Regions from separate parts of the Homo sapiens genome. Here region 2 is linked to region 1. Evidence: promoter capture Hi-C in 16 types of primary human blood cells and fetal thymus (Javierre and others, 2016). All regions are on one chromosome and are shown on one strand. The core of a region is centred on a gene start or on the middle of the fragment in contact, and the rest is flanking DNA. Distances in the headings are between cores, read along the strand shown. Region 1 overlaps LMAN2 (lectin, mannose binding 2). Region 2 holds the start of RAB24 (RAB24, member RAS oncogene family).

The links. Contacts are between HindIII fragments. The CHiCAGO score rates a contact against its expected background, and 5 or more counts as called.
Region 2: the fragment with the promoter of RAB24 here is called in contact with a fragment that was not itself captured in region 1 in 2 of 17 cell types (erythroblasts and megakaryocytes); the score reaches 6.0 in erythroblasts.

Annotation. Positions count from the first base shown.
Region 1 is chr5:177,346,919-177,349,730 of GRCh38, reverse strand. The region is part of intron 2 of LMAN2 (lectin, mannose binding 2); the gene reads left to right. Among named protein-coding and RNA genes, the nearest start is that of LMAN2, 3.3 kb to the left of the region's middle. The HindIII fragment of the contact is 1,479 bases long and covers 658-2,136 here.
Region 2 is chr5:177,302,157-177,304,968 of GRCh38, reverse strand. RAB24 (RAB24, member RAS oncogene family) reads left to right here and starts at 1,250. Exons shown (of 8, transcript NM_001031677.4): 1 at 1,250-1,797; 2 at 1,892-1,960; 3 at 2,139-2,217; 4 at 2,325-2,392; 5 at 2,473-2,572; 6 at 2,791-2,812. The coding sequence starts at 1,681. It overlaps PRELID1 (PRELI domain containing 1), which reads right to left and starts at 1,170. Exons shown (of 5, transcript NM_013237.4): 1 at 892-1,170; 2 at 119-344. The coding sequence starts at 983. RefSeq lists enhancers at 40-109, 120-189, 340-399, 420-469, 580-679 and 2 more and silencers at 910-1,049, 1,160-1,239, 1,290-1,359. The HindIII fragment of the contact is 8,255 bases long and covers 381-2,812 here.

The DNA of each region.
Region 1 (2,812 bases), core at 148-2,647:
GAGTTCAGTATAGCATTATTATTATTTTTTGAAAGCAAGGTGCAAACAGTGCTGGAACTGTAGAAATCAGGAGTAGCCACAAGTAATAGACGCATCTAAGACAGTGGCTTACATTTTGGTTGTAGATAGCTGATGGTTGGCATCATCAGTGGCTCGAGGATGTCACAGGACTGAGAGGCTTCTGCACTTGCCTTCATCGAATTTTCAGTCTGGAGTACAATTGTTTTGCCTTCCTTCCTCCACCTTTCTATTTGGCTCTGCTGATATTCCTGAAACATTTGGAGTGCTTCCTGTAAACTCTGGAAAGAAATGGCTTGGAAATCAGAATTTTCTGTTCAGTGTTTCCCAAGAACTGCCTCTTCCTTTAATGAGCTGGAGAGATGCTTCCTAAACTTTTCCCTTTTTTATCTCCTTCATTCACTCCATCCGGGAGAGGCATGCACTCAGGCGAACATTCCCTGAACACCTGCTGTCTTCTGAGCAGCCATAAAATAGCTCCTGCTGTGGTGCAGGGGGGGTGGTCTAGATGAAGGAGTGGCTCAGAGTTGACTAGAACTCTTAAGTGCCTGGTGGCTGCAGCATAGGACCTGGGGAGGCTGCTCAGGCCCTGTCCTTTTGGGGGTCTTGTGCGGAGGCTGCGGCAGTGGTCTTTAAGCTTTCTTTGCTGTTGTAGCAACCTTTTGAAAAGTTGGCATCAAAAATTGTTTGTCATTAGGTTTAAGTATTTGCAAAGGATGACAGCATATTTTAAATATTGACATTTTAAACTAAAACTGTTCAGTATTTTAAACATTCAGTGGAATCTAAATATTGCAATTTGATATCCACTTTTTTTTTTTTTTTTTTTGAGACGGAGTCTTGTTCTGTCACCCAGGCTGGAGGGCAGTGGCGCAGTCTCGGCTCACTGCAACTTCCGCCTTCCTGGTTCAAGTGATTCTCCTGCCTCAGCCCCCTGAGTAGCTGGAATTACAGGTGTGCACCACCACGCCCAGCTAGTTTTTGTGTTTTTAGTAGAGGTTTTTTTTTTTTTTTTTTTTTTTTTTGAGACAGAGTCATGCTCTATCACCCAGGCTGGAATGCAGTGGTGCGATCTCAGCTCACTGCAACCTCCACCTCACGAGTTCAAGCGATTCTTCTGCCTCAGCCTCCCCAGTAGCTGGGATTACAGGCGCGCACTGCCATGTCCAGCTAATTTTTTGTATTTTTAGTAGAGATGAGGTTTTGCCATGTTTGCGAGGCTGGTCTCCGACTCCTGGCCTCAAGTGATCTGCCCACCTCGGCCTCCCAAAGTGCTAGGATTACAGGTGTGAGCCACTGTGCCTGGCCAGTATGTCAGTTTTTTAATTGAACTTGTACTTTCATTTCCACACAGAATATTATCCTAATGCAATATATTTAATGCTTGAAAATGTTATTCATTAGCCTACCATATTCTTCTGCAAGTAAAATTAATATAATAATTTAAACTTTTCAATTTTGTTGAGACTGAAACTTTTAATATTTTGTTTGAGATTATTATAATTATCTGTACACACTTGATAAAAGTAAATGCATTACACAGTTTTTGAGTAATTATACAAAAGTAAACATTTTTTGAAACATGAGATCTCAGTAGGATGTCACCCCCCACCCCCATCTGGATGGATAATACTGTCAGAATAAGACAAGTTCAGTACCACTTCTACTTTTTGTTTTTATGTACATGAATTCTGAGAAACTGTGTTCTCTTAAATAGTAGTTGGAGATGGGGTTATTTTTAAAATTTTAAATTTCTATTATAGATGGGATCTTACTATGTTGCCCAGTCTTATCTTGAACTCTTGGACTCAAGCAATCTTCCCACCTCAGCCTCTGAGTATCTGGGACACAGGTGCTCACCACCACTGTGCCTGGCACAGCGGGAGTTTTGGTAGAGCAGCATCACTGAATATTTTGATCTTCTTTTGGTTTATAAACCCAACGTCATGCAGTGATCTTTTATCAAAATTTTTGATGATGTTTCGGCTGACTGTTGATTACATCTGCATTCCGTTTCGTTGCAAGCAGAGATGTGGAAACTGCTGAACTGTAAAATAGCCTCTTATTGCCAGGTGATTCTGATGTAGTTGGCCTGGTGTAGGACCAAGGCATTAAGCTTTCTGAGCTCCCCAGGTGGGTTTGCTGTGGGTTAAGAACTGTGGTCATATCGTGTTTGTCCCCAAAAGCAGCTTCTGAATCATTTCCAGCCTGTGCCTTGCCTGCTTAAGATCCTCCAGAGGCCTTCTATTGTCTGTATCATAGTATGTCTCTACTAATCTGCAGTTTTAATCTGGGGTCATGAAGACTTTCCAAGGCCTGCGTAGTCCTGGAGGAGTCTGTTTCCAGGTCCTCCACTGTCTCATGTGCTCATTCCTGAAACCAGCCTCCCCGTGAACATGCTGGGAATGGGTGTGTGGGTTTTCCTTTCCCACCTCCCTCACTCAGTTGCCCTTCTGCTCTGAGGTCAGCCTCCCAACAGCCTGGTCTTTCTTCAGGGTGTTGTCCCCAGGTGCAGAAAACTCCTGGGCACCAAAGAGACCATTTGAAATCTGGTTTCTGGGCTGACTTTTGTACATGTGAGATATTTTTTTTTAAAGTTTTCAAATATATGAGGGCTATTTTAGTTATCTTTTAAAATTGTTTATTATTGTTAGATAGCTGATGGAATTGCATCATGGTCAGATTTTTTGGACGCGTTCTGTTTGTGCTTATGAATGTGGATTCTCTACTTGTTGACTACAGTGTGCCACGTAGGTTCTTTAGGTCAAACTTGCTTTCTGAGCTTCCCAGGTGG
Region 2 (2,812 bases), core at 1-2,500, 45 kb after region 1:
CCTGCCTCCGGCCACAAAAGCTGCCTTATGGCTCTCTAGCCACATGTATCTGAGGAGCTCTCTATCTCGGGGGGAGGGGAGAGGGGGAGGTGCAGAATCACAACAGGAGGTGTCTCACCATCAGCCGGGCGTGGTTGATGTTCCAGGTGAAGGTAGTCATGGTCTGATTCTGTGGGTCCACAATAGAGTCCTCCAGGACGTACACCGAGTGAGCAACATTGGCAGGAAATAGTCGCTCGGCCCAGCGTGGCATCCTGTTGGTCTTGGTCAGGAGTCGCCGGGACAGCAGTTTCTGGTCAGGGGTCACCTCCCGGTGTACTATGTCTTCCGTCAAGACATGTTTGCTGCAGGTGTCAGGGTGAAGGTGACCCTCAGAAGCTTGCCCCTAAGAGACTGCCCGAGGGGATTCCCATTTGGAGGCTCCGGGCCTAGAGAGGCCACGCCTTCCCGTAACCTTGCAGGGTGGTATGTGCTATGGTTCAAACCAGAGTTAAGGGCCCATCCCAGGGCAAATTCCCACTCCCGCCATCTGACTGACCTGGATTCCTGCCTTCTAGCAGGAATGGACCTCATGATTTATTGCACCCCAGGAAAGCGCCACGGGCAGAGAAATAGGATTTCCAACTCCAAGATCCCTCCCAACTCCCATACTGCCGCCTCTTCTTGTCTCACCACACTGAGAAAAGAATCTTACACTAAGGTCTCAAGTAAACCACCACCCAGGCCCAACCTCCCTTCAGGACCTTGCAGGCCTGGCCTGGCCGCTTCCCCGATAAGGTCTACCTAGGATTCGATATCGAGTCCTTCCTGGTCCCAGTACTTGGGGGTTACCCATAATTCGATCTCCAGATAGCGAGATGGCGCGGTTTTGCTCTTCCAAATACCACGTACCTATAGGGATTCGGGTACCGCTGCCAGAAGGCGGCGAACACTTGGTCCCAGGAACTCCGGAGCACGCTCTGGCCCAGGAAATACTTCACCATCGTCCCGGCCGAAGCGGGCTCAGCACCCGCGCAGCATCAGGGGTGCGGAGCCTGGGAGGCACGCGAGGGCCGGGCCGGGCCGGGGCTCGGCGCACACCCGCCGCCAGGCTCGTAGCTCAGTCACCACCGCACCGCGCCCAAGCAGCTGCCGCCGCCGCCGCCGCCGCCATGAGTTGTCCGGCCGCGCGCCACTTCCGGCGCAGCCACACAGTAGCCACCGCTTCCGGCGCCCGCGCCACGTGACCTTGCGGCCCCGCCCCCTCGCCCTCTAGCCCCCTCCCGCGGGAGTCGCGGCGCTGCGGGTAGGAGCCGGGTTGCGGGAGACCCCAGGTTCGGTTGGGATTCCCAGCCAGAACGGAGCTTAAGCCGGGCAGGCGAGCGAATGACGGAGTAGCGAGCTGCACGGCGGCGTGCTGCGCTGTTGAGGACGCTGTCCCGCGCGCTCCCAGGCCGCCCCGAGGCTTGGGGTCTTCGAAGGATAATCGGCGCCCGGGGCCGAACAGCGGGGGCACACGGGGCGCTGCCGAAGTGCAAGGCCACGGCCAGAGCTCGAGCCCGACGCGCTGTCTGGAGTCGTAGGTTGGCGCCGTTTGGGGTCGGGGTCTGAGGCTTGGGCGCTGCCTGGGCCGAGCGGAGATCGGGGTTTGCCTCCCGTCCCCGCTCAGGACCCTGACGTGGCTGAAGCGGCCCCGGGAGCATGAGCGGGCAGCGCGTGGACGTCAAGGTGGTGATGCTGGGCAAGGAGTACGTGGGCAAGACTAGCCTGGTGGAGCGCTACGTGCACGACCGCTTTCTGGTGGGGCCTTATCAGAACGTGAGTGCATCCGGAGGGGCCAGGCACGGTGGGCGGGGGAGTGGGGGGCCGGTAATCTGCACCTATGGCCCCGATCTCTTCCCTCTCGTTGCAGACCATCGGGGCCGCCTTCGTGGCCAAGGTGATGTCGGTCGGAGACCGGACTGTGACATTAGGTATTTGGGTAAGTCCCCCGGCCATCTATTCTTGGGAGACTCATTCCTGAGGAGGTGTAGGTCCTGCCTATTACTGGTTGATTTGTGGCCTCACAGACCCATTTCTCATAGACCCGTTTCCTTATCTGGAAAATAGCGGGGTCTGGAGAACGTGGCCTTAAGTTTGACTCAGGCCTTACTCTTTAGGACACAGCAGGCTCTGAGCGCTATGAGGCCATGAGTAGAATCTACTATCGGGGTGCCAAGGCTGCCATCGTCTGCTATGGTAAGGGGGGGGGGGGTTTGGGCTGTCTCACAAGAAAAGATGGGTGCCAGGCTAGCCAGAGAACAGCCCTTGACCACTTGGTTGTCTCCTGCATGCCGCACACCAAGACCTCACAGACAGCAGCAGCTTTGAGCGAGCAAAGTTCTGGGTGAAGGAACTGCGCAGCCTAGAGGAGGTAGGTGAACAGACCTCACTAGAACACTAGGGGCTGGGGTTTTGTTGGCCTGTGGAGGTGACCCTTGTCTTCTGCCTCAGGGCTGCCAAATCTACTTATGTGGCACCAAGAGTGACCTGCTGGAAGAAGACCGGAGGCGTCGACGTGTGGACTTCCACGACGTCCAGGACTATGCAGACAGTAGCTGCTCCTCAGCCCTTTGGGGGGTGGGGGTGTGTGGCTGTCTGGGTGGATCAAAGAAAATAGGGACTGCCTTGGCTGCCAGGGCAAGGTGCTCTAGGAGGTCTTCCTGGCCTCCTTGAACTGTGGGGTCCAGGAGACTCCCTGAACTGCTAGCCCTCCCTTTTGTCTGTTTATCTAATTCTCAGGTATGAGGCTTTAGTCACTTCTCTTTACAGATATCAAAGCTCAGCTCTTTGA